Regions from separate parts of the Homo sapiens genome. Here all the other regions are linked to region 2. The links are contacts of gene promoters, found by promoter capture Hi-C in blood cells and fetal thymus (Javierre and others, 2016). All regions are on one chromosome and are shown on one strand. Each heading gives the region's core, a stretch centred on a gene start or on the middle of the fragment in contact. The rest is flanking DNA. Distances are from core to core; before and after follow the strand shown.

Region 1 (5,920 bases), core at 2,864-5,363, 850 kb after region 2:
TTTTTTGGACCCAAGTCTTCGAAATCCAGTGTGTCTTTTACGTTGACAACATATAAAAACAAGCATTGACAACGTATTGAGCACTTACTGCCTGCCAGCTGTTACTGTAAGCTCTTTAAATGCATTACTTAATTAATCCTTTCAGTCACACTATGAGGTGGTAGATACTAGTGTTATCCCCATTTTATAGATGAGGAAACTGAGGGACAAAGGGGTTAAGGAACCTTCCTAAGGGCACAGAGCAACTAAGTGGCAGAGCTAGGATACATTCTCAGCAGTGCAACTCTAGAATGTTTGATGTTCACCATAAGGCTCTCCTGCCCCAGTTAACACAATCCTGCCCGATAGGAAACTAAATGAGTGGAAACTTGCCAAGGGGACTCAAAGCTAATAAGTGACTTAGCACATGTTTAAGCTCTGTGCTCTTTCCCATAGTACTAATAGAAAAAAAACAAGAGGTCATACTGGCTGCTTTAATCATGATTTTATCACTACTGAATATGAAGACTTGGATATGTACAGAAATTTTCACTTAGGAGTTTGGGTGTTTCTATGTGTATGTATATATGTGTGCAAATAAGTATTGTCTTACATGTTTTCCAAAAGAGGATAAGAAAATCCATTAATTATATAGGAGATACATTTTTTTATCTATAAACATCTAACCTTTCAAAGAATTAAAAGGGGATATTTCAGTTGCCAAAAGAACACATTTAAAAAGGCTTTGTAATTCTGTTTATTATCTGGTGGTTTATCTAGCCATGGACTGAGTGTTTAAACTTGAAGAAGAATGACCATGTATTAAAACTTCACTCTAAAACTGATCCTCCAGCCAACAGTGTGACCTGCCTGAAGATGTGATTTTATGCTTCTATGCTTTTGCCTGAAAACTCACCTAGTTGTGCTCCCTGTCTGCATGCGAGGTCTCATACGGGACCTTGTCCCACGATCCCACTGGTTTCCTGCTTGTCTACTGCCTTTCCAGCCTATTTATTTAAAAATCTACTCCCCTTCACCACTGTTGGGTATGTACCTCTTGCTAGGGACACCACTGTATTTTTGACTATTTCTATCATATTTTTTAACACCTTGTGTTGGAGTAGTAATTACAAATCTCCCACCTGCATGCCACTCCATGGATCTGTTAGAGATGTCTAAACAGGGCTGTATTTCATTCACGATGTGTCTCCTTTGTCCCATAATTGACAAATGGTCCCAATACAATGTTAATATGATGGTCTAGGTCTCAGGAGTTAGATACCCATTTCTGAGTGGGACTGGAGAGAAAGGCTTAGGGAAAAGTGAGACTCTATTTAGGAGATAACCCAAAATGAAGCTGTCTGACAGTTTTGTCTCAGGGTACATAGTATTTTAGATAACGATATCTTTTTTTCTTTTCTTCAAGGAAAAAATTCAAAGCTTAAATCTCTCATTTTTTTCCTAGACATTTTATTATTTGTTTTTGACACTTTATACTTTAAGGGTACATTCCAGAGCTGCAGGATATTTTGCTTTGTCATTATTGAATCTGAAGACTATCATGTTTATATAGGCGTCTTCAGTGAATTTGGGCAGTTTTATGAGGATGTCTATTTGTGTGCAAATAAGCATTTCCATACGTGTCTTTCAAAACAGAACAAATCTAAATCTAAAGATAATTTTCAAGTTTGGCCAGGGAATCCTTATGTTATATTGATTCCATAAAAACAGGGGTATGTATTACCTAGCAGCTGAAGAAGAGATGGCCTACATTAGGCACCTGAGTGTCAGAAGGGGTTGTCAAGAAAGTGTACAGTTAATACATAAGTCTGTCCTGATTGAATTAATTAATCAAGAACTACAGGTGTTGAAAAGAGAAATGGGTACCTGGAGAAGGACATCATCTATATTGGCATCTTGGAATGTTAAAAAAGGAAATAGCTCACCACAGCCCTAGCCTGGTGAGCTGCCCTGTCTGCACCACAAAATATAGAACTCTGAGACTCCTGAGGGTTATCTCAGTTTTTCTGTCTTTTCTTCCTTCTTACCCAGGGTTCAGCATGCAAGGTTATTCATTAAAATCCTGTCTTTTTCTGATTTGTTTTTTCAGGGGTGGTGGGGGTGCTGGTAGTGACAGAATTTTCCAATTCTCCTAGGTGCCTTTGCTTTTCTATCCTGGTGCTACTGACTGTGTAAACTGTGACAAAATTCCCTTCCAATCCTTGGTTACTGTTTAATTCCCCTACATGTGCTTCAGAGTCAACATTTAGTGTGCTTGGGCAGGATGGCCTTGGCTCAGCGTAAAACTCTGTCAGAATCGGTTAGATGTGACTTCAGAGTTGGGTTTTATTGACATTTTACATGCCCGAGTTGATTTTGGAAATTGCCTCTGTTACCACATCCTTACTTCTGATCCTAATGGGAAACCAACATTTGCTAGATTTTTGGCAACCACTGTTTTAACAGGAGGAACCTGTGTCTCATACACTGCTGTATTGCCACAGCTTTGAGTTTTGACAGTAAGGAGAAGGTAGGTACTTAATAAGTATTTATTGAGTTAATGAATTTTGGTGCTCTCGGTTCTGATTTTAAAACGTTTTCTGTTTCATTGACTCTCCTGTTAAGAAAACAAAACCTTTCCCAAACTTAGCTATTTAATATAGAAACTATAATTCTAAAGAATAAAGAGAAGAAAGAGAGAACAGACAGACACAGACGTTAACTGGTGCACGACTTATGGTCCCTATATTTAAATGGGCATGAACTGTGGTGAGCTAGTTTTTCTGGATTTCCCTTTCTGCCTTATTTATTGTGGAAATTTGTACACAAAGGTGTACAAAGATAACGTACTATATATTCATGTATTTTTTGAACTTCAAAAATTATCCACATTTTGCCAATCTTATCCATGTCTGATCTTTCTTTTTCCTGTAGTACATTTAAGCAAATCCTAAATATGGTGTTATATTACCTCAAAATACTCCAGTATACATTTCCGAGGATTTTTTTAACCAAATTGTCATGACATGTAACATAAGGAGTAATCATTTCAAGAATTAATATCCTATACAGCCAGCCCATATTACAATGTTTCAAGGATGTACTTGTTAGCTCCAGAGACTTGATTAGACTCTGGTCTGTTTATTTGCTTTTTTTGGCAAAAATGTCTCATAGCTGGGGCTGTGTCTTTTTTTCTGCAAGAGAGACTTGTTGTCTGCCTGTGCCTCTTCCAGGGACACTGCTGAAGATACCTAGATCAGCAAGTTCAAATGCTGTCAGCCCGATCCCATTTGAAAGTTCTCTATCAAGCTTTCCCTGATGGATTTAGCATCCATTGATGATCACTGTCAAGATCCATTATTTATCTTAGGAATTAGGAAAATCTTAGTTTTCTCATTGTGATTCTGTCATTTCTTGTACATTTATTGGGTGAATTCTTCCATAAAGAACTTCTACCCATCTGCTACTTGATTACCTTGAAATACACTTTTTACAGGAAAGGTAAGATAAATGCTTGATACTTTCTCCTTATTTATAACTTTTTGGAATCATAAATTTGTACCCTGGCAACCGGCAGTAATGAATCATTGAAATTTTCTCATTAGTATCATTATGAACTCATGAGTTTTTATATATTAGATGTCTTTCAATCTAGTGCATTTTTTTCCTCTTAAATTGCCCTATCTTAGGTCACTTTGACCTCTGTTTCTTTTTGACACAGCCAAATCAGTTTTTGATGGGCTATGGATTTAAAATCTCTAATCTTGTTTACTGGTTTATGAAAGATAATTTGAAATTGCTCTCTTGAGCATCCTGACCCTTTGATTCAAGCAAATATTGTGGGACTGAGGGGAAGCTATGAAGTTCTTTGCCAAATGTTACCATGTTAAATCTCTTCATTTTGAGGAGAAAAGATTAGAAGATGGCTTTGTGATATGATCTGTGTGGCAGTTTCTGATGTTGAAGTGAATATACTAGAACAATTTTCTCATAGAATGGGATATAGTAAGAGCACTGTTCTGAAGTCAGACAGCCCTCGCTCCAAATTCCTGCTTGACCACTTCCAAGCCATACAACTTGGCCAAGTAACTTATGTTCTGTATGTTTTAGTTTTTTCATTTTCTAAAGTACACATACATGGTAATAATACCTTCCTTTTGGAATAGTTGTGTGGTTAACTTGAAGTGATAATGGTGAAAACACCCAGCAGAAAGCCGGTCACACGGGAAGTGCCTTGTAATGGTAGCATAACAATGGTAACAAGTCATGTCACTGTGATTTGGCATTAAATCTGGATATCTGTTACTTCACTCTGTACAAACATGAAGGGAGATTTTCTAAGAAAACAAGGATTTTCTTTCGTTTTCATTATGCATGTCTTGAAATTTCCTGCATTGCTCTATTTGTGGGAACTGAAACATTTTCTCAGCCCAAGCATCATGTGACTGTTTCTTATTGCTAGTCAGCAGCATGAAACCTCAGATGAAAGTATATTAACTGAGGGTCTGGTAGAACTGTTCAGCAAAGCTAAGCAGACTTTATTTAAAGAAAATGCTCATTCCCTTTTGCTGGACACACAACTTCTAAGATCCATGTATCATGCTGCTAAGTAGTGGCTTTGGGATGCTCTCTGTATAAATGAAATTTTCTAGTCAGCTGAAATTCAAACACTAAACATTCAAATATTTTAGTAGCTGCTGATATAAATTGTACTGAAATGTAATGGTTTTAAGCGGAAGCAATTTAAACATCTTTTCACTTTTTCTTTATGATTGCATCAGTCAGCTGTTGCTCCATAAAAATCAATTCCACAACTCAGTGGCTTAAACTAATTTTCATTCATTCTCACTCTCTGTGATAGAGATTGGCTGGGCATGTTCTGGGCCAGGCCTGACGGCATGACTCTACTTCATGCTGCAGGCCTGTCTGGGTTTAGGTCCTCACTGTGGATTAAGCTTAGGTCTGTTCCAGAAATGTTTATTTTGAGGGCCCAGTCTGAAGGAAGCAAACCAGCGAAGCTATTCCTATGGTCGTGGTAGGAGTACAAGAGTGTTAGCCCAACTGTGCAAGCGCACTTCAGCTGTCAACTGGAATCACATCTGATTCCATTCCGTTGGTCAAAGTAAGTCAATCACTAAGCCTAACAGCAGAGCAGGGAAGTATACTTATTCCATGAGGTGGTTAGGGAAAAGTGATTATTTGCCAAATACCAATCTAATTTACCGTACTAAACTAAGCCTTTGGTATGATCCTCTAACAAGGTTCCATACTATATGTAGTTATTATTCATATCTTTAATATCCCTGCCATCAGTTCTGACTTTTCATCTTGTTCATTCTGTGCCACGGAAAACCATGTCTTTTAAAAATTGTGTTCAGGTAAAGATAAATTCTACATGAAGATTTTAAGGCCTTCTGGGGAGTGAAGCTTTGTTTTCATAGCTATTTTGGATGTTTGGTGGCCTTTTATTTTATTTTATTTTATTTACCTTAATCATTTTGTTCCAAAAAGAATTAGAGATGTTGCCAGAAATTTGACTTCTGGGTATGAGGGGTTAAGCTCAACATGTAAAGATAAAAACTTCTAGGAAACAGAGGTTAATTCATTATGTTATAGTAACTGGGTCATACGTTATACTATTAATTCTATATTTTATATTCTAATCTTATATCTATAACCAACTCACAGAACAACTAGGGGAAAATTACCTAATCTCTAGGTACTTTTATGTAAAACCAATGGAGATGATAGATGTGAGAGCCTGAGGCAATTGTGATGGTATTCACATATCAAATAAAATTATTTTCAACTATGTTAAGATCATATTAATAAAAAATTCTACTGATTCCTAATTCATAATTAATCTGCCTAAACTACATTGAAATTTACTTTACCTTAGTGCAATTTATGGATAAAGGGATTATTTATAAAATTTATGTTG
Region 2 (5,414 bases), core at 2,365-4,864:
TCATCCCAGATTTTGATATGGATTTTTAAGTTGACTTTTCATCACCCATTAATTTTTTCAAACTCACACTGGGAATAGAACATATTTTATTACTGCAATATGTTGACTCTTTACACCCTTTGTAGGAATTTGTGTTACTTATAAAGAATATAACTGTAAACAAAGATGACAAGGTATTTTTCTCACCAAAAACATTTTTTCTGTACTGAGTGGTTCTTGAACAAAGGAAGCTTACTTGACCTACCTAATGTGTAAGGAATTAGGTACAGAAGCTGGTTAGGTAAGGCAAAGAATGAGGATGAGAAATTTACTTATCAGGGGTTTAGAGCGGTCATTAGAAAAGCCTCTACTTCCCAGACTGGTTTGTCCTGCTCAGTGAAGAGTGTTTTATTCCAACATCCTCTTTCCCTAACAGGCATTTAAAATAATGAGAGAATTTTTTAAAACAAGATATTTACAGTAAATAAAAACCTGTCACCACAAAGTGGGGAAAGTTGCTGACATTTTCCTGGGCATAGGATATGCTCATTGAATATGGCACCAAGCCTGCTTCCTTCAGTGAATCCATTTTATCAGCAATTAGGACTGTTGTTTCACTTAAATGGAGAATTCCATTATGACTCCTCAGCAACCTTAACAGATAGAAAGCTTTTTGTAATATTGCTAACTACACAGGAGGAAAGTAGTTATAAACTCCCTTTTGTGCTGTGGTGGATAGTCAGTGGAAAAAAAATCACCTTAAAATATTTCTCAGGACATGTTGGCCTATACCTCATTTGAATTCACGCATCTTTAAAATAAAATCTGTGCCTGGCGCCGTGGCTCACGCCTGTAATCCCAGCACTTTGGGAGGCCAAGGTGGGTGGATCACCTGAGGTCGGGAGTTTGAGACTGGCCTGACCAATATGGAGAAACCCCGTCTCTACTATAAATACAGAATTAGCCGGGCATGGTGGCGCATGCCTGTAATCCCACCTACTCGGGAGGCTGAGGCAGGAGAATCGTTTGAACCTAGGAGGCGGAGGTTGCAGTGAGCCGAGAATGCGCCACTGCACTCCAGCCTGGGCAACAAGAGTGAAACTCCATCTCAAAATAAAATAAAATAAAATAAAATAAAATAAAATAAAATAAATCTTATTTTTATTTTTAAAATAAAATCTTTATTTTATAATAAAAAATTTAAAATTTTTTAAATGAAAATTTTAAATAAAACATTTTTTAAATAAAAAATTTAAAGAAAATAAAAAGATTTCATTTTCTTTAAAATAAAATCTGGCTGTCCAATTGTTATTTCTTCGGTTGCTTTTCAAGAAAGTGTGAAGTCAAAAAGTAATTTTAAAAGGTAGGACTCTTCAATCTGCTTGAACAACAACAACTAGATAGTCTTAAATAAGTTCCTTTTATTTATTCTTACGTTGGTATTTTAAGTTAAATATTATACCAATAAGAATAGCTAGTTACGAAACAGCAGGAAATTCCACATATTTATTTAAAAAATAGACATGTTTTTAAAATCTCATTAATGACTTTGTAAATTGTAATACCTACCTTTGGTAAGGGTGCAATGAAATAAACACCCATAGGTACTAGTGGACATGGCATAAACTGCTACTATCTTTCAGAAAAGGCAATTTCATAATATACATCAAAACCCTAACATGTTTGACCCTTTGCTTCAGAAATTGAACTTTTAGGAATTTAGCCTGATGGAATGTATAATTAAAGAAATGGACAAATACTTGTGTGCAAATGTGTTTGTCATGACATTATCTGTAATACAAAAAAGCTGGAAAAAACATAAATCTACAATAACTGGGAATTGGTTAATGAAATAGTAGGCTATTCATACAATAGATTGCCACATAGGCATCAAGAAATATCCTATTTGAAATTAGTATATACAAACAAAGAAAAAATGTTAAGTTGTTATCTCTCAGTCCAGATGTCTTATTTTCTTTACTCTTTTCTGTATTTTCCAAATTTCCTTCAGTGAACATCTTCAGTTAAGAGGCCTTAAAAGTTCATTTGCTAGTATTATGCTGAAAAGTTCTTTTTTAAAAAATAAAACTACAGTTCAGCACAAGTGAAATTTAATGCTCTTTTTACTATCATTGTATCTTTCGAATATCTGCACCATTATTTGCCTTCCATATGTATTAAAATATGGAAAGAGCCAAAAGAGACATGTAATTCAAGCTCCCCTTTCTTCCCAAATGAAATTCCCCCAAATAAGACCACCATATTTTCAATTTATTAGGCACTTCCGCTTAACTTCTCTTCATAATTATAAGGAGTTCTTTTGAAGTTTATATGTCCTTGTCTTTGTGTTTGATCTGTCTCTTCACTGTGCTGTAGGGACACATCTTCCGCCTTTAAATTCCATCAATCTCCCTTCACCTCCCGCTTCTCCTGTGTCCTAGACAGTGTGTATAATTCTTTGCTCTTCAGCGTATTCAATATAAAGAAGGTAGCATATAAAACAGTTACATAATGCAAGCTTTATTCGTAGTTAGAAAATCATTATCAAAATGTTACCATTGCAATCATTTCCATAGACTGTCACGTAACCAACACCTGCAATGGGGAAGTGGTACACAATCCAACACAACTCATTAGGGGCTCTCAGTCTATTCAATCTCTGACACTCCAGCAGCCTCAGTACCACTTCAGGAGCCAATGCAGTCTACCTCTCTCCAGAGAGCAGTGTTCCACCTTTCTGGGACAGAAGTCAACAATCGCGTTCCCCAAGAGATGGAAAAGAAGTGGAGGAGGGTGAACAGGTTACCAAACCCACTTAGATACACTCCGCATAGACTAACTCTCCAAATTAAAGGACAGGAGGTCACCTGAGCTGACCATAAAAGCTCAGAGTGCTGATGCGAATAAGATCAGGGAAGGCTGCTTATTAACACCGTGGTCACTACAAAAGTTCTTGAGGGCATCTGCTGTGAGTTTTCCATCGTTCCTTATTGTCCTCCTGCATCTCCTGTTGCTTTTCTTGGCCCTCTCCTTTTCGCATTTTCTATGTCCTTTGCCCAGCAGTAGTACTGCAGGCATAAACCATTGTCGACCTGAGAATTAAATTAGCATTTGGTAGCCAGACCTCTCCTTGAGCCTTAGAATGCTTGTGTGCTTGAGGTCCCTGAAGTGTAACGTCATCTCAAAGCGCAAGTAACTAAAGGGAACCTACATGTGACAAGGTGCAGCGGAGGTTCAAGCAGAGCACCCTGGCCGCATCGCAACAGATTATAAAGTGTAGGGGATGAAAATGATGGAAGACATCAGAAAGCCGAGCTGTAAAAAAGCCCAAACTAAGCAAACTGAGACGCGCAAGCGCGTTGCTCACAGCTCGTCTCCCGAGGCCGAGCCACAGCGCCTGCGCACAGAATCCGGGGAGGGTGGGGAAGAGATGAGCACCCAGGCCTGGAGCTCCCACTGCCTCAGCCTCCCTATCCCCGCAAGCTCCGCCTCCTCCAGCTGCTCGCCTTCCCAAACAACCGGGTTCGCCGCCGGCGCTTTCTGCCCATTGGCCCTTAGCCTTTTCCGTTTCCGCCCAGCCCTCAAAATCCACCAATCAGTTTGCACTTTTGGGTGAGGGTCCACCTCCAAGGCTGTCGCTCCGGTTCCTCTGCCTCCTCTGGCTGCTGCCTCCGCAGCTCCCTCCTCCTACCCCACCTCCTCCATCTGGGGAGCGTCTGCGGGGGCCTGAGGGGCGGCGGCGGCGGCGGCGGCTGCGATATGGAGCCAGGGGCCGGCGGCCGAAATACTGCTCGTGCGCAGAGGGCCGGGTCCCCGAACACTCCGCCGCCCCGGGAGCAGGAGCGGAAACTGGAGCAGGAGAAGCTCTCCGGTGTGGTGAAGAGCGTCCACCGGCGGCTCCGCAAGAAGTACCGAGAAGGTAAACAGCGCGCTGAGTGAGGGAGGAAGGGGAGGCCTCATCACCCCCAACCGCTTGTCACCTCTTCCCTCCTCCAAAGAGGCCACCATTAAAATGTAAAGGATCTGCACGTCCCCCCAGCCGCTGCTGCTCTCCCGGGCCTGGTCTGAGCCCCCTAGTCGGCATCAGACGCGCTCCTCCCCGCCCCCTTTTCTTTGAGGGCCCTTCGGGAGAGTTCTAGGCCTGTAAAGGAATTGAGTCCCCACCCCCTCCAAGCCCCTGTCCCCAGCCGGGGTGCTGAGGTTGTTGTCTCGGCACACACAAACACATACACGCTCACAGAGGAGGTGGGGGTCGCTTTTTGCAAGAGACGCCGAGGTAAAACAAGACAGGTAAAATCCATTTGTAAAAGACGAAAAGAAACCTGAGTTGTCCCTCCTTTACGCTTGACCTACCGGCTGTACCATTTGCTTCCTTATCAGACCCCCTTCCTAGTACTTCATTCCTACAACCATGCCGAGCCTTCCTCGCATTGGCTTCCAGGGCTGGGAAGCCAGCAGGCCTTTTAGCTGACTGGACTTCACATTGTTAAAAGGGGGCGGGCTACACTCGTGGCCCCCACTCCCATTTCTTAAATACTTGGTCTTAACTGTTTATTTAGGCGATGAGGAAGAGATCTGGGCAGGTTCTGAAAATACCGTTTGTATTGGAAGCCTCCTAAAGACACCTGCCGATAAAGCCCACCCTCGGCTTCCATGGATGGGGTTCCGGTGAGAACCCCCTCTGTGGAAGCTCATAGGGGAAGAAGCCTTAGTGGCTTTTGCCTGTGCCTGAAGAGTGTTTATAGTTGGAGTCTACAGTTATCCTTGATATCTTTAAATATAGGCTTTTGTACACAGCTGTTTTATAAGATTTTGACAGTGAAAATTCTGTTTTCATAGGCTTGGGAGAGAGACTTCTCCTGAGTATCGAAATGAGGAAAGCTTTCCACTGGTTCTCATTTTAGCTTAATTGCAAACTGAAAAGTCAGCAGCCTTCTGGTGTTAGTCCTATACTTAGTTAATAATTTAGGATTAGAAGGAAAATTATGGCAGTGAAGGAATACAGACAGGTAAGATCATGTTACTGTTGATTTATACACACGTTTCAACTACTCTAGAAAGTTAAAACTAAGTATCCTTTGTTCTTTTGAATGTAGTTGATATGTTTCATTTTTCAAACTTTAAAGGTTTCTTTCCTTAGCAAATCAAGCTTAGCTTTTAATAGAGGCTGTTTAATCATCCCCAAATGGGGCTTGTAGTTATTGTTTAACAGATAGCAATAGAAAGAGTCTTATCAGACCTACTTAGGATGGTAAAATATGTTTTTTGAAAGAATGCTACCCAAACCCACAATTTAGTCAATAAAATGAGTAGTTACCATAGCAACAACTGCATCATTCTTGATATTCAAAGAATGCTCTTACATAATGGAATTCACTGTAGATTTTATGTTATTTGGAGAGATTAGGAAATAAATGGACACATTTTCCTGCAAT
Region 3 (6,131 bases), core at 1,344-3,843, 720 kb after region 2:
ATTTTTAAGGATAATTTGGTGGATAGGGAATCAGAAAGTGGTAAGAGCTGATTGGTCAGGTCAGAGATGAAATCGTAGGGAGTCGAACTTGTCTTCTTGCGCTAAGTCAGTTTCTGGGTGGCGGCCACAAGACCGGATGAGCCAGTTTATTGATACGGTGGTACCAGCTGACCCACTGAGTGCAGGGTCTGGAAAATATCTCAAACACTAATCTTAGGTTTTACAATAGTGATGTTATCCCTAGGAACAACTGAGGAGGTTTAGAACCTTGTGGCCTCTAGCTGCATGACTACTAAACCATAATTTTTAATCTGGTGGTTAATTTAGTTAGTCCTGCAAAAGGCAGTCTACTCGCCAGGCAAGAAGCGGGTTTGTTTTGGGAAAGGGCTGTTATCTCTTTGTTTCAAAGTTAAACTATGAACTAAGCTCCTCCCAAAGTTAGTTCAGCCCATATCCAGGAATGAACACCGGCAGCTTGGAGGTTAGAAGCAAGATGGAGTCGGTTAGGTCAGACGTCTCTCACTACAATACTTTTCTGCTATAATTTTTGCAAAGGCAGTTTCAGTCTGCATAATCAAGTTCTAAGATCTGAGACAGTATGATCTACTTTCAATTTACATTTCCAGACTTCTTTTCCATTGCTGCCATTTACTTATCATTTTCTCTAGGCAAAATGTATTGACTTGATACTTGTTGTATATGCCCTTAGTTTTTCTATTGCTCCCTCCCTTTGTGTAGGCCTATAACACTTTTTCCTTGTTTCTGCATGTCCAAATATTATTAAACTTCAAGGCCCAGTACCACCTGTTGGGAATAATCTCTTTTTTGCATAACTCTATGTATATCACTCTAATGTTCCCCAGCACTTTCTACCTTGTAATATGTACTTCTTATATCCTCCCTATTAGGTCATAAGATCCTTGATGGCAAGACCAATGTTATTCTCATCTTTGTATTCTACAGCATTCAGAATAAAGAAGTTTGCACATAGCAGATGCTAAATAAAATTTTTGAATGAACGAAACCTCAGTTCTATCAGTAGCTCTTTCAGTTTTGCACTGTTTATTACAAATGGAAAGGAGAGTGAGATAGGATGCATCCTAATAATCAATCCATATTGTCTCAGAGTATAGGATCCCAGAAGACATCTACTGCAGTGGTTCTCAGCCAATTTTCTAACCTGATACACCTGATCAATGACACACACATGTGCAACTAATTCTTCAGGCCATATCCAGATTTTTCTTTTTCTTTTTACAGATGCTAGGACTGAATTATGTCGGCTCCCAAGCTGTAAACCTACCTCCTCTTTCTTTTACTGATATTTGGAAGATGGAGTTGAAAGGATGCTAACATAATCTCACTCCCTCATTTACAAACCAGGAAATCTTAACCAGGAGTGCTAATGACTTCTCTAAAATCACAGTCAGTCGGAAGGAGAAGTGGGATTAAAATCCTAGCGCTTTATGAGGCTGAGGTGGGCGGATCACTGAGCTCAGAAATTCGAGACCAGCCTTGGCAACATGGCGAAACCTCATCTATACAAAAAATACAAAATTTAGCTGCGCATGGTGGCACACACCTGTAGTATCAGCTACTCAGGAGGCTGAGGTGGGAGGATGGCTTGAGCCCAGGAAGCAGAGGTTGCAGTGAGCTGAGATCATGCCACTGCACTCCAGCCTGGGCAAAAGAGTGAGACCCTGTCTAAAAAACAAAAAACAAACAAAAACAAACAAAACCAAAAAAAACCTAGTTCTTCTGATTCCTTGTCCAGTGAGCTTTTTGCAAAGCTGTACTGTCTATGATCACTGCTGCTGGAAAAATAACTCAATGTCGCAGTACATTATTAGCATTACTTACCTTTGTGAGTGGATGCATATTTAAAGAGCATTCAAAAGTCATTCATAAACTGGTTTGAAAGAAATTCAAATAAGCCCGCAGACTCTCACCTTCCTTTCCTTCCCTTCTCCTCCTTCATTTGAGAAAATTAGTTGTACAGTGCCTTGGCAAAGACAGCTTGATTGATGTTATGTTACAGTTCAGCAACAGTTTCTGCTATTAATTGCTTTATAATGGTAATTACGATTAGCGGGTACAGGATATTTTCTTTTCTAATTGGCTATTACTGGTGAATAGCAGCTTATTACATAACAGAAGACTGTGTTAAATAACCACGATTACAATTCTGAGATCTTTACTAGTAAAAAAACAAACCTCTCTATTTGGATAAAAACACTAAAAAAAGTTTTTTAAAGGCAGGGCCTCTGTGATTACTTGCAGGGAGGGGAGAGTTCTTTCAGTTAAGAAAAAAACATGAAATGAGGACAGTATTAGAGAAACAAGGAGGCAAAACAAGAATTTCCTTTCTTTTAAAAATAAACACATGTAAAAGCTTTAGTATGCTCAGCGCCTCTGGCAAGGCATGCATATCACAGAATCAAATGTATCCACTTCATCCCACAGTGCTATATGGAACTAGAAGAGACTCTCTTATTAGCTCCGGTGAGACAGGGATGCAGAGCCCACCAACTACACTGAGATGTCCACATGGATAAGGCTAGGGGTTCTTCATTTGTATCCCATATAGAGCCCAGCATGGCGCTGATTCACAGTTGCCAAACACCACCAAATGCCATCACAACATGACACTGTCCCAGAGGATGAGGTTAAAGGTATATTTAACAGTTCCTGTCCTTACAGAGTTTATATATTGTATAATGTGGGATTTGTCTTGATTCCAGCTTTAATGTTCTTTGATTAGTTTGTAATCATTTTAAAGTTACATCCAAGCTTTTGTAGTAGTAGTAGCAGTAGCAGCAGCAGCAGCCATAATAGTAATAATGAGGTCCTATTACTTGCTGAAGGTCATACAGCTTTTAGCTGACAGCTCCTTTTGATTCCAGTTTATCCAAGTCTAAAGCTTGGGCTTGTACTCGCTACTGCCTCTTGAGACAGACTTTTATCAGTAGCATCATTTGTCCCTATATTTTCATAGTGCCTCAAGATTCATAGAGTGCTTTAACATACTCTGCCCTCACCACACCTCCCAATAATATCAACATCATTTTTTTTTTCCTGATGAAACTGAGGCTCAGAGAGGTTAAACGATTTTCCCCAAGTTCACACTGCTAAAAAGCTACAAATTCAGATTCAGAATCCAGGTCTTCTGACTCCTATTCCAGTTTTTCCTTCTACATATTTTACTGATTCAATACTGTACATTGATTATTTTAAATATGCTACTCATGGAGAAAGCTTAATACTATCCCACATTATCCTATAAAATTTTAAATATTTTACCACTTGTCAATTGTTGACTCCCTCTTTCCCAACCTCCCTTCACCCCATGAAGCAAAGGTTTAAATCCTGTTTAGCTCTAGAAAACTTTACTTGGTTCCTATAGCCAAAGATATCATTCAACCCCAGCTGCCTATGTTGCAAATAAATGCCACTAGTTACAAAGATGATCAGTGAGAAGTAAAGAAAAACAGAAGACTGATCAGTCAAATCTATCACCACTTCTGAAAAAAGCTGCCCTGCTCACCTTTGGGTCAAGTAGGTCAGTAGAACATACTTGTTTCAGCATGAGGTGGCAAGTCTTTAAGGTACTGTCAATGAAAAGCCAACTCATTCAGAGTCTGATAAGTTTATCAAATAAGTCAAAACTGAACCCTAATTTTGTGGCAAAGTTCTCTAAGAAGAGCTAATAGAAACATTTGAAGATTTAATCACTGGAGACAGCAGTTTATGCACATTGCTTGTTTCTATATACTCGTGATTTATATTTAGAAGAGAGTATGATTTCTATTATATGAATCTGATCGACATCCTCTTTACAGTTTTTCCAGATGGAAGTGTATGAGTGTGTATTGTAAAGGGCAGCACTATTCTTTTGCATGAATGGGAAGGTCAAGGTCAACACAATAAGTGTATGTAATTCGGTATCTGACCCATCAAATCCCTCAATAATAACCTGCTCTTCAAGTGCAGAAGACATATTAAAACCACTTGTATCACTTCTGGCACATATGCCAAAGATGTGCCTATACCTATGACTGAAATAACAGTCACAATTGAAGACCAGACTATTATATCATCTCACCTAATCATTTCCACATCCCAGCAATATAGATACAGTATTACTCATTTTACAGAAGAGAAACTGAAGTTCAGAGGTTTACCAGAATCTGATCCTAAGCTGGCCTGATTTTAAAATCTTTTCACTATTCCATACTGCCTTTCTATGGTAACATTGGCTTTAGAGCATATTTATGTGTAAGAAAAGTCTGTTTCAGACCTCATTCAATGGAATTTAGTTACTATGAGACATCATTACAACCGTGCATAGGATAAAAGTCTTTTCTCAGTTATTGTGTGACTTTGGGCAAGCTACTCTTTTCATCAGTTTCCTCATTTGTACATAAAAAGCGTAATATGACTACCTAGGGGTTGCTATGAAGATGAAATGAGATAATACCTATAAAAGCATTTGAAACAGTATCTGGCACAGTTAGTGCTCAAAAAAATGTTAGCTATCATACACATCATCATTATTATATCCCTTTTAATAAGAGCTCTTCTCTAAATATCCTACAAGTTGGGTCCCATTGATTTGTCATAGGAAAATAAAAGAATGCTTTAAATAAGGCCTCTTCAGAACCTTATACAAAATGTATTAGTCCATTTTCATGCTGCTGATAAAGACATACCCGAGACTGGGCAATTTACAAAAGAAAGAGGTTTTAATTGGACTTAGAGTTTCACATGGCTGGGGAAGCCTCACAATCATGGTGGAAGGCAAGGAAGAGCAAGTCACGTCTCACATGGATGGCAGCAAAGAGAGAGCTTGTGCAGGAAAACTCTTCTTTTTAAAACCATCAGATCTCATGAGACTTATTCACTATCATGAGAACAGCACAGGAAAGACCTGCCCCTATGATTCAATTATCTCCCACCAGGTCCCTCCCACAACACATGGGAATTCAAGATGAGATTTGGGTGGGGACACAGCCAAACCATGTCACCAAACAAGACCTACAAGAGTAGTTTCTATAATTCTTATCTTCTCTGACATCCCACGGCCTATACCTTGTGAGGCAACCCCAGTATACAATGTTACTTGAGTTTCTTGATGACTTTGAGTGTCAATGTGTGTGTGTGCGGGTGGGGAGCTGGGTGTGAGTAGAGTAGCACTGTATAGAAGTGAGAGAGGATACAGAAGATAATATAAAGGCTTGCAGAGCACATAGTTGTAATACTAGTATGTAGCACCAACAGACACTCTGACAACTCCCAAATTCCAGGAAAGCATTGACAGCATAAGCAGTTATCACCAACACATTCCTAAGCTTCCCCAGGGTTACTCCACAATTTAGATTGCTTCCTAAGTGAATACAGTATCAAAGAGCAGGCAGTTCTTGATAGAGCAGGCAGATCTTTATAATTGGGCCTATCTTTATAATGAAAGCAACTAATACTTACTGAGGTCTGACTTTATAACAGGAAATATGCTAGGCTTTCATAAATATATAAATATGAAATAATCACAATAACTGCAAGACAGGTATTATACGGATATTTTCATAAATGTGGCAGCACATATAATAAACCTATGTTACACAGCTTTTAAATGTCAGAATTGGAATTTAAATACCGTTTTGTCAAAATAAGGTCTAGTCCTCTTTCCATTGCCATGTCAAATATATGAGACTGGACTTAATGGTTTATAGAAATAGAATGACAGCCTGTAGAAAATTGGTAACAGCCATATAGATGATGAAAGACAGAATTCAAGGTCCATGTGGTAGGTCATTCAGTTACAGGCTTAAAGTTATAAAGGCCAGATCTAAAGTATTCTTTTAAAAAATGTAATTATTATTTAAACAACATTAAAACTTTATTTTAAAAAACTGAAATACTATCCTTAAATGCTAACTATGATCACCTTGACAGAATATCATCCTCCTGATATTTTGCATTTTAGTTGGTATGCATACCTTTCACAAGCATAAAACATCTATTCAGTTTTTTATTCTACTTCAGTTCCTCTGCTCAAAATAGTAGCCACTCTAAATGCCTTGAATAAATTTCAAGCATATTCTAACATTAGACTGTTATACAATGTTTACTGT
Region 4 (5,693 bases), core at 1,043-3,542, 540 kb after region 2:
ACCTGCCCTAACAAAGATTATAAGAAAGATTTGAAAGAATCCAATTGATTCTAAGTTACCATGTGCCAGAAGAAAATGTAACACTATTTAAAGGAATACAGCAAAATCAGATCTTCAAAAATGTTCAATATCCAATCATCAATTTTTTTTTTTTTTTTTTTTTTTTGAGATGGAGTCTCGCTGTGTCGCCCAGGCTGGAGTGCAGTAGCACGATCTCAGCTCACTGCAAGCTCCGCCTCCCGAGTTCATGCCATTCTCCTGCCTCAGCCTCCCAAGTAGCTGGGTCTACCGGCACCCACCACCACGCCCAGCTAATTTTTTGTATTTTTTAGTAGAGACGGGGTTTCACCGTGTTAGCCAGGATGGTCTTGATTTCCTGACCTTGTGATCCACCCGCCTCAGCCTCCCAAAGTGCTGGGATTACAGGTGTGAGCCACCGCGCCCGGCCCCAATCATAAATTATTAGCATGCAAAGAAGCAGGAAAATATTATCTATAACCAGAAGAAAAACTATGCATGAAGCACAGAGAGAAAAAAGACTAAGAAATACACACAGCATCAGTGACTGTGAGCAATATTAGGGATTCTAGCATGTGTGTAACTGGGGCTTATATTACACATGTTAGAAAAAATACGGGGATATTTGATGATACGATGATCAAATTTTTTCCGAATTTGATGAAAACTGTAAACTCACAGAATCTCCACAAACCCCAAGCAAAACATAAATTCAGAAAATAATGCCAAGACAAATTATAGAACATTATGTACAAAGAACAAAGATAAAAATGACAGCAAACTTCTAACCAGAAATCATGTAAGCTGGAAGAGGCTGGAACAGTATCTTTAGAGTACTGACAGAATAAACTTTCAAGCTAGAATCATTTACCCAAAGAGAATATCAGATAATGAAAAGCTAAGAGAATTCATTGCCAGTGAATTTATAAAAGAAATATTAAGTGAAGCTTTACAGGCATAAAGAAAATAATATTCATTGGTTTTAGCAAAGCATATCTTCTATGAATTGATATAAACTCCTAGAGATTAAAGTCATACACACATCTCTTACATTTTAGAAGGTATGTATAACAGCCCAATTTTGCCAAATAAACAATAAACTCAATTCTCACCTGTAAAATTGACTTTCTGTTCATTAGTTTAAAGAATTCGGAGAAGCAGAAATTAGTTTACTATTTAATTCACTGAAAGAGAGTCTACTAGATGAAATACATTGAACCTATGAAAATAGTATGTAGATTTTATAGGATCAGTACCTGCAAGTAGGTCATAAAGCCTGACCTGATACTAAGCATTTTCTAGGATATTATCACCAAATTTCTAAACTCACAGGGTCTCACTTTGTTAACAATCTGATATTAGCTGCTATGTAAAAACAAAATAATTTATTATAACCAAGACCATCTGCCAAATGATCATTTCCAAAATATAAAACTCCAATACCATTGTTGTAAGAAGTGTTTATGATAACTCCTAATGATCCTTGCTGCCTGATATTCATGCCCTTCTGTAATACCTTCTTTGAGTGTGGGCTGGACTTATTGGCTCACTTCTAATGAATAGAATATGGCAGAGGCTGGCTGCAGTGGCTCAAGCCTGTAATCCCAGCACTTTGGGAGGCCGAAGCAGGTGGCATGGTGAAACCCCTTCTCTACTAAAAATACAAAAATTAGCCGGGCATGGTGGCATGTGCCTGTTATCATGGCTACTCAGAGGCTGAAGTAGGAGAATCGCTTGAAACCCAGAGGCAGAGGCTGTAGTGAGCCAAGATTGTGCCACTGCACTCCAGCCTGGGTGACAGAGCGAGACTCAGTCTCAAAAAAAAAAAAGAATATGGCAAAAATTATAACATGTCACTTTTGAGATTAAGTCATAAAAAAGACTGGCTTCTATTTGACTTCTCTCCTCTCCTCCTTCTCCTCTCTCTTTCTCTCTCTGTCTCTTTTTCTCTCTTATCACTGGGTGTATGGAAAGTCAGCTGCCATGTCATGGGTCAGCCCTATGGAAAAACCCAACTGGCAAGAAATTGAGGGCTGCAAACAACCACATGAGTGATCTTCGGAGCAGACCCCAATGTCACTACCAGTTGAGCTGTTAGATAAGACCACAGCCCCAGTTGATAGCTTGATTGTAACCTTGAGAGATACTTTGAGCCAGAGGCACTCAACTGAGCTGTGCTTGGATTCCTGATTCATAGGAATTATTTTAAGCCTCTAAGGGTTAGGGTAATTTATTACACAGCAATACATAACTAATATAGCTATTATTCAGTAGTTTAAATACTTATTCATGAAAAAATATTGATGACTCTTTCCACATAATATAGGGGAAAATAATTCTACTTGCTACTTTGTGCACTATGTATTTTTACGGATCAGCCAACAGACCAACATGTGGCAAGCTATTACATGGAGATTGAAAATCTGGCACCATGAATTATTCAACCACTGTCTCCAATGAACGGTCTGACACAGAGGTTAGATTTACCAGGAACCAAAGTAACACCTGCAGTATCCAACTCTTGTTACCATTTTGTAATCTTGGAGAATTATTAGGTTCTTTGAAAAGTGTTCCAGAGTAGCATCTTTAATTGTGGATACCAGGTTCAAGTTAAACAACTTTCTGCCCACACAAATGTTAGAATTACATGATGACTTACTAATTCTCCCACTGAAAGAGCTGTACACAACCCTTTGACTATCTGGCTAAGATAGATCTTTGGGGACTAATAACCTAGGGCTCCCTGGGACCTAATAATTATATCAGACTAATATGTATATATAACTCTTTATATATATATATATATATATAACTCTTTATATATATATATAACTCTTTATATATACATATAAAACTCTAAATAACATCTATGCTGAAGCCATGAGACAAAGAAGATGATGATGAAAATAACATTGGTAGACAGTTTAAAGTTTATAATATTATACTATTTGTCATTCATAGTTTCATTTCTTTCCAAAAATCTTGTGTGCTTGTTATTATAAGCCCCTTTCACCATGCTACACTCTGCCTTGCACATAGGACAGAGTTTGATAACTCTAGAACAATTTGCCTCAGAGTAGTTGTTAACCTCCTAAACTGTGAAATGCCTACATAAAAAGTAAATCATTCCATCATAATGAGAAAAATCCTACTATCCTACTGCCTTCCCAACCTACCCTAGGCTGGAATTTGAGATTGTTTCTATTCCACACTGCTTAAGAAAATTTTTTTTAGTTGCTTTAATCTGGCTTAATGAGCTACATTCTCTGAGCCAATGGCTACCTTTCCTACCAACACCATAAACAAAACTGATCATATTTGTTAAGGGAAAAGGCAGTCCAATGACATGGTAATGAGTCCTGACTGTGGAATGTTCATCTCCTGCAGAAATTTATGGCCCCATTCACCACAGCATCATACGCCTCCTAGAAAAAGAAGCAGTACGTAGTTTATTCCTGTCTGGAAATTGATGTGTAGCCAGGGGTAGCATGTGCACATTCATATCTGCCTAAAGCAGGATGTAAAATGTGCCTATGAATCAAACATACTCTAGTATTTCTAAATCACAGAGAGTCAGGACTAGCTGCAAGAGGCAAGCTTTTGTAGCTAGGCTGCACTTTGCTGAAATACTAGCCTTGATCTGTTGCTGCTCCATTCCTTGGACTAGATGTTCTTTATGGGTCCTTTTGGCTCTAATGTTGTAAAATTTGTGGATTAGCTAAGTTGGCTTAAAGAATCCTCCTGAACTGTGTTAGCCATGTATGGGATCTTTGATATCATCTGATATTTTTCTTAGGTGCTTTGGGTTAGGAGAGATAGTGCACATGGAAGAATATTACAGATTGACTATGACCAGCAAGGAGTCATCAAAATTAGTTGGGAGAAAAAAAAGAAAATGTTTGTATGAGTAAGAAAACAGATTACAAAATAATGTGTTTGGGGAAAGACCACTAGCAGTGTCCCAACTTCCATTCTCTCCTATTTCCTTTATATTAGAACTCATGCTTTTAAGCTGGGCACACAGCCATCTGAAACAAAGCTATATCTCAGAAGCTCACCAGGAGATATGGTTATATGTCTAAGTTCTGACCAGTGGAATGTAAGCTAAAGTATTATGTGCAACATCTGGGGAGTGTCCTGCTGGCCAGAATTCAGACAAGATGCCTGGAGCACAAGTAGCCATCCTGAACCATGAGGTAGAACTCATATGTTGAGGATGGCATATGATAGAGGAGCCTCGATCTCTGCCACCATGGAGTGTCATGGCAGCCAGAACTGCCTCCAAACTTCATTTACCTGACAGAAAAACTGCTCTCTTATTTAAATCACTACTATTTTGGATTTTCTGTGACTCATAGAGGAATTAACCTTGCTAACAAACCAGAGATATGTGTATCCCATTTTAATAAAATTATGTAGGTGTGTATGCTACATGTGTGCACGTGTGAGTATGTGTGTGTGTTGACTCTAGCCACTCAGCATCCATTCTCCCCTTTTAATATCATTCTAATTTCTTTGTAGGGAATTGCCTCTCTCCCACTGTGTGATGTCATTGTGGGATGGTCAATACACATGCCTATCCTCTCTCCAGGTAATTCAAGGGGGTTTCTGGAGGTCCCTTTCATCAGGTCATTCTTCTCACTGCCCTGTTTCAGTGGGAGGTAAGTTAGAATTTCTTAGACCTTGGTCCTTAATACTCTCCATTTCTCAGCTGTGTTCCCTCACAAAGGATTTATTATCCACACCAGCTTCTATGACATCTATAAACAGATGATTCTCAAAATGCCTTCCCAGCCAGCCTGAGCTTCTCCTCTGAATTCTGTACCCATGTATTCATTAGTACCCTGGCAGAAATGGGCGATACATTCAGACTGAAACAACTAGAGTGAGTGGACAGGAAACAGGGACATGATAAAAGGTCATGCAGTATTCTGGAACAAGCAAGAGCACATCCAGAACCTGGAGAGAAAGAGAGGTGGAGAAGTCACCTGACAAGGGCTATGGCCTGTGGTTCAGAGATATAGCCAGCCCACAGCAACCCTGCAGGGAGGAAGCCAGATAGATAAACATCTCCCGCATTCGCTTTCCTTCTCTGATCTGCTGGGGTTCTCCACTGAACCAACCCAGTATGAAGCCAGAGGCAAAGGGAGTTTGTTGATGCAGGTCAGCCTCCCAGGGCCCAGAGCAGGGTGGAGGAGGGTGGAGAGTAGTTCCGGAGAGGCAAACAGAATGTGCAGCACAACCCACCTATCCACTTGCCTACTAAAGATCTTTTGATGTCTCAAGGCACCTCAAATTCATTGTGCCCCAAATCAAACCATTCATCTAACCCCTCCCTGGATTTAGCCAGCCTAGTCAGCTGGCATTGTTCCCAATCTTAAGAAATGGCACCATTACCAATTTAAGTAAGCCAGAAACCTGGAAATGATTCCTGACCCCTCTCTTTCTCTCTCCACCCACGGTCAGTCTATAGCCAAGTTCAGCTAATTTTATGTAACCTACCTCCAGCAAAACAAAACCGAACCCACTCTCACCTGGTACTTTCATCCTTAAGAAGAGCAGGACAAGCAAGGCAAAAAGCTGGGGCAGGCTCACTGAGCGGTCCCTCCTACCTTCTGCAGCTGCCACATCCTTGTTTCTTATAAGCCCTATTCCTCAGCTTCTCTTCAATCCCA
Region 5 (5,411 bases), core at 2,066-4,565, 750 kb after region 2:
GAAGTAATGAGTCTAAATGAGACTTCGCTAATTGCTTTGACTTTGATTATGTATAGTCTGCCTGTTCATTCTAAGTTTTAACATGACAGACCCCAAATTTCAAACAGCAGTCATCTCGAGGCATTTTATTAATATGGGTACAAAGGATTCTCAAGTAAGAAATATTAGCTGTCCATTTAGAGTTGGTCGTAAACTACATTTTACAGTCTTTTCTTGCTTCCCTCTAGGGCGTTGCCTAGCTAAGGCATTAGTTATTTCTATGTCTGTGACAGTCTTCTCCCAAACAAATATTTCATGCCAGATTGTGCACGTTTGTGAGATTTCCCAGTAAGGATGTTGAAAAACAGAGTGCACGAATAATATTTCAATGAACAAGATTTATACATCCCTGAAACAGCATTTAAGAACACGCACCCATCTAAAAATGGAAAAATGCTTCAATATATAAAGCAATAGATTTGTACATACAGTTTTTTTTTTTTTTGGTAAATATATAATACCTCTTAGGAACCACAAGAATTCTTAAAGTTATACTATGGCACTCCTGAAAAATAAGTGACTTAAAGGAAGGAATTCTAGCTTATGATGGCACTAGGTTCCCTTCCCCTCATGTAGGCTCTCCTAACTAATCAGTGAAATAACAATAAATTCACAGAAAGAGGCAAACATTAATAATACTGAAAACTAAGTCTGACAGAACGTCTGTTGGCAAAATTCACGTGAAATTTCCCTAAGGCAGGTGGAACTGGTTGAAGAAAACCAATGTTTTCTTGGTTTTCAGTGGTACGGCGTGGTGATTATAGTTAACAATAATGTATACTTGAAATTTGCTAAGAGAATAGATTTAAGTATTCTCACTACAGGAAAAAAAGGGAACTGTGTGAGGTGCTAGATAGTTAATTAGTTTGATTGTGGTAATCATTTCACAATGTATGTGTGTATATTTAAGGTGATATCAACATCAGTTTGTACAACTTAAATATATACAATTTGTATTAGTTAACAATACCTCAATAAAGCTGGATTAAAAAGAGAAAAAAACCTATTGGTGGCTTCTTTTGGCTTTCCCTTATTAAACAGAGAGGCCTCAATGACTGGAAAGATGACAGGAAGACCCATTGCCCCTTCCCCACTCTCTGTCACCAGCTTAGAGACCAGGTCAATACATCCAACTTGGAGCACGCCATTTACTGCCGGAAGCATCTGTAATCCTTCTCTTTTCACCCCATCTTTTTAATTCTGTTGAGAGATGACCACTCTCAGAAACGAGCAGGACAGGAAGGTGGGTAGGTGGGTGGAAAGGGGTCTATAGAAGATGCCACTTCACCATTGAGAAGTGTACTGTGGTCTTCATAAGGACAGTGATTTTGTAGTTGCTTTGAAAGTATTGCAATAACAAAGCTTACTGGATAGTGTAGTTTTTCTGGCAGGGTATTGGTGACAGAGAAGGAGGTAGGGGGATAAGAGATGATTTCATCTGAATTGCCCTAAAACCGTGGTACATGGTATATAATAACTTACAACTGGGAACCTGGCTTGGAGCTGTACACATCAACTAGCCTTGAACGCAGATCTGAAAGTGGAATTGAACCCATACCTTTATTTTTAGCTCAGTCCTTCGCGTTGTAGAGAGGTTCGAGATCCAGGTTGCCTTAATCAGTGATCACATTTGCATCTCTATGGAAGCGGGAAGGCAACTAAATCTGGACAGGCATCTGTCACTTAGCAATGAACGAAAACATGGCTGTTTCTCAAGAAAACGGGAGAGTGAGGAAGAGGGGAGAGCATGACATTTACATGGGAGGCTTTTGGAAACTACTAACACATGTGTATTTGTTCTCCTCCCCCATTTGTGCCCCCTCGTGGGAGGGTGGTTGGTGAGAACCCTTCTGGATATGAAATTTGTAAGTTTTCCTGGTTGAATTTGCTAACAACTTATCTCCCAAGTTGTGAAACATTTTCCTAAACCAAGAAATTTGCTGTTTATTAGACTATCAATTGGACATTAACCAAAAATTTCTCCCTGAAGTCTTTAAGCAGAAACGTGGAGATTTGGTTCTATGTCTTATTTTTTTTTTTCTCCAAAATGGAATAATCTCATCCGTTGTTGGCAACCAGAAGTAGGCAGGTTTGGGAACGTGGGGATGCATGTACATAAGGCAACCGAAAATAGCCCCAACCGAGATCCTGGATGAAACATTATTCACTTTGTGGGGAGAGGAGAGAACCTGTTCTCCATTCTCCTCTGGTAGCCAAAGTTGGTTGAGGAGCTTGTAAAGCTGCCTTGATAACAGGCTCAGGGGTTAGCCAGGGTCTCAAAGAAATACGAAAACCCAAAACATCAACAGGCAGTTCTATAAAGAATGAAGAGAGAAGAAACCTCTGAGGTTTTCTCCAGTAGTCTGGATGAAAAACATTAAGATCTGAGGATTCCTAAAAAATTGCACACATAGTAAAGGTTTGCCCCTTCTCCAGTTTGTTTGCTAGTTTGTTTATTTTTTGAGATGGAGTCTCATTCTGTTGCCCAGGCTGGAGTGCAGTGGCACAATTTTGGCTCACTACAACCTCTGCTTCCCAGGTTCAGGTGATTCTCCTGTCTCAGCCTCCCGAGTAGCTGGGATTATAGGTGCCCACCACTGTGCCCAGCAAAGTTTTGTATTTTTAGTAGAGATGGGGTTTCACCATGTTGACCAGGCTGGTCTCGAACTCCTGACCTCAGGTGATCTGCCCACCTTGGCCTCCCAAAGGGATGGAATTACATGCGTGAGCCACTGCGCCCAGCCTCCAGTTTGTTTTTTTAGGAGAACTATATTTGTATTAATTGTATGTAAAATCTCCATTAATACTCTCATCCATAGTTATAGAAATTGATTCAGAAGACTAAATATTTATGTTCTTTGCCCCAGGTTAGGCAATATCATGTATACACTATGTAGAAATTATTGTAATGAGTTTTAAAATGGGAAAATACTTATCAGAGGTGAAGAATTGGCATACACATTACCTGTAATGTTCTTACAACCAATTATTATAATTGAGGAGATGGCTTATTTTTAATTTCATACTTTCTAGTAATTTCTTAAATTAGCATACATTTCTTTTATAATCAGAAAATCATTATGTAAGTTCTTCTATAAGCCAAACATTATTTCCTTTGTGAGGTTTCCTTTCAGGATTAGAGGTTGGACTGGTAGAAGTTGAGTCTGGACAGCCTGAATTTAGTTTGTCATTTATGTGCAGAAAGTACTGTGTTTCAAAATTTTAAAGTAGCTTTCCTTGTTATATGAGTTTGACTGCCTGTGATGTCACTGCTGTGTTCATTTTCCAGTATCCACAGTGAAGATGTGTTTTCATATAGCTGTGGGGTCTAAGCCTTTGAAAGGGAGCTCTAATTGCTCTTTTAATTTGTTGAAACAGCTTCAGATGAATTCACCTAAGGTAAAAATTCTGCTCTCTCCATGAAATGTTTGCTTAGAAGACTGATGTTGGTGTCACTGCTCACTTTTCCTTTGTTCTATAAACTCTGTCCTGTTGGACTATGGACCCAGGGATAATTTGTGCAGGACAGACCTTTCAACATAGAGAGTCAACAATTTGAAGAGGTTTTATTTAGCAATTACAGAATAATAGGAATAATTGCTTATTTATGGGTGCTATAAACTGAATGTTTGTATTCCTTCAAAATTCATATGTTGAAGCCCTAACTCCCAATATGGATATATATGGAGTAAGGAGGTTACTAAGATTAAATGAGGTCATAAGGGTGGGGCCCTGATCTGACAGGATTTGTGTCTTTATAAGAAGAGATCCTGGAGAGCTCACATGCTCTCTTCATAGGTAGCATGAGAAAGGGCCATGTGAGGGTGCAGCAAGAAGGTGGCAGTCTGCAAGCCAGGAAGAGAGTCCTCACCAGGAACTAGTCCTGCCAAACCTTGATTTGGGACTTCCATGCTTTAGAACACCGAGCCTGTGGTACTTTATATGGCAGCCCAAGCAGAAGGGTTAAAGACATTTTAGGGATTGTAGGAAGAGGGATATAAAAAAAGTAGAAGCAGGATCCTCAACCTCAGTGTAATCAATGTAGTTAGTGTTGGCTCTCTCTGTGATTTGAGATCTGACTCTGCAGGCCCACCTCTGGAGGCACAGACTTAATTGAGCTAGAATTTTTTTTTTTTTTTTTTAAGGCATGGTCTGGCTCTGTCGCTCAGGCTGGAATGCAGTGGTGTGATCATGGCTCACTGCAGCCTTGATCTCTCAGGCTGAAGTGATCCTCCTGCCTCAGCCTTCTCAGTAGTTGGGACTATAGGCATGCACCACCACACCTGGCTATTTTTATTTTCATTTTTTGTAGAAACAGGGTCTCACTATTTTGCTCAGGCTGGTCTTGAACTCCTGGGCTCAAGTGATCCTCCTGCCTTAGCCTCTCAAAGTGCTAGGATTACAAGTATAAACGACTGCACCCATTTGAGTTAGATTTTTTGATGGTAGATATCGACTAGTAACTCCAGGTATCTGTTTATTTGAATAATGGCATTTTTGCAAAGTTGCTCACATTGTCTTGAGTTGTCACATCACTTTGGGTGCCTTCAAAGCAACCAAAAGAGGTAGAGTCTTCAGATGCTTCATTTCTTTTTGCTACAGTTTTTTATAAAAACCTAGGGTGACAGGTTTAATCATATAGGTTAGCATTTTTAAAAAGTAGATGGAAGTTTTATTATATGAAACTTTGGTTGGGGCATTGGGTTAGGAGTACTTTGTTTTTGAAAGTCCTGGCTGTTGAATATCAGGTCCCTGAAGAGAATGAAGCAATATTTGGAGGAATTTCTTTTCTTTTTCTACTATCCTTAAGTATGTGTTTCCTGAGAGTAGCTAGTACCTTCCTCTAAAGATTTACTTGTTGCATTTTTTTTTCTTAGTGACAAGCATAAGGGCATATTTTACGACATGTTGGTAGAAAAACTTCTGTTGGATGATTATTTATGGTATATGCCTATGATGTATAAGGCAATATGCTAGCTTGATAAGCATCCAAAGAGATATAGAACTGGATGACTGGACAAGTGAAGGAGCTAGAAATGTTTCATAGTTTTATCTCATTTACTTTGAACAACATTTCTTCAAGATAGATGTTACCCTGATTTTGTTTTTAAATACACAGTAAGGGAGTACATAAAGTATCACAGATAAATCAGTGTGAAAGTTAAGACAGATATTTCCCCTTCAAGCTTTAAAATGAAGATAAGGACTTGGGATGGTGATGATATTATTCACTTGTGCACCTGAAGAAACAGCCCTGAGGAGGAAAGAGTGTCTCATATCCTGGAAGACTCAGAACTTCTACAAAAGAATAGAAGTTTCATATTGAGATACTTCCCATAGGAGTGAGTCACCGGCTGCTAAGATCGCCCAAG

The links. The method cuts DNA at HindIII sites, captures the fragments that hold promoters and counts their contacts. A CHiCAGO score of 5 or more calls a contact.
Region 1: a fragment that was not itself captured here is called in contact with the fragment with the promoter of SAMTOR in region 2 in 1 of 17 cell types (monocytes); the score reaches 5.9 in monocytes.
Region 3: a fragment that was not itself captured here is called in contact with the fragment with the promoter of SAMTOR in region 2 in 5 of 17 cell types (non-activated CD4 T cells, naive CD8 T cells, naive CD4 T cells and 2 more); the score reaches 8.5 in non-activated CD4 T cells.
Region 4: a contact is called between a fragment that was not itself captured here and the fragment with the promoter of SAMTOR in region 2, in 2 of 17 cell types (non-activated CD4 T cells and total CD4 T cells). The highest score is 5.5, in non-activated CD4 T cells.
Region 5: a fragment that was not itself captured here is called in contact with the fragment with the promoter of SAMTOR in region 2 in 3 of 17 cell types (neutrophils, non-activated CD4 T cells and fetal thymus); the score reaches 7.5 in neutrophils.

What each region holds. Positions count from the first base shown.
Region 1 is chr7:112,083,103-112,089,022 of GRCh38, reverse strand. The region is part of intron 1 of DOCK4 (dedicator of cytokinesis 4); the gene reads left to right. Among named protein-coding and RNA genes, the nearest start is that of DOCK4, 120 kb to the left of the region's middle. RefSeq lists an enhancer at 4,435-4,534. The HindIII fragment of the contact is 1,646 bases long and covers 3,291-4,936 here.
Region 2 is chr7:112,938,075-112,943,488 of GRCh38, reverse strand. SAMTOR (S-adenosylmethionine sensor upstream of mTORC1) reads left to right here and starts at 3,614. Exons shown (of 5, transcript NM_152556.3): 1 at 3,614-3,898. The coding sequence starts at 3,739. RefSeq lists enhancers at 3,146-3,485, 3,140-3,656 and a silencer at 3,686-3,785. The HindIII fragment of the contact is 2,363 bases long and covers 2,500-4,862 here.
Region 3 is chr7:112,211,904-112,218,034 of GRCh38, reverse strand. The region is part of intron 1 of ZNF277 (zinc finger protein 277); the gene reads right to left. Among named protein-coding and RNA genes, the nearest start is that of ZNF277, 8.3 kb to the right of the region's middle. The HindIII fragment of the contact is 398 bases long and covers 2,395-2,792 here.
Region 4 is chr7:112,398,075-112,403,767 of GRCh38, reverse strand. No RefSeq gene overlaps it. Among named protein-coding and RNA genes, the nearest start is that of IFRD1, 50 kb to the left of the region's middle. The HindIII fragment of the contact is 2,650 bases long and covers 968-3,617 here.
Region 5 is chr7:112,192,369-112,197,779 of GRCh38, reverse strand. All of the region lies in intron 1 of DOCK4 (dedicator of cytokinesis 4), which reads left to right. Among named protein-coding and RNA genes, the nearest start is that of DOCK4, 11 kb to the left of the region's middle. The HindIII fragment of the contact is 3,824 bases long and covers 1,404-5,227 here.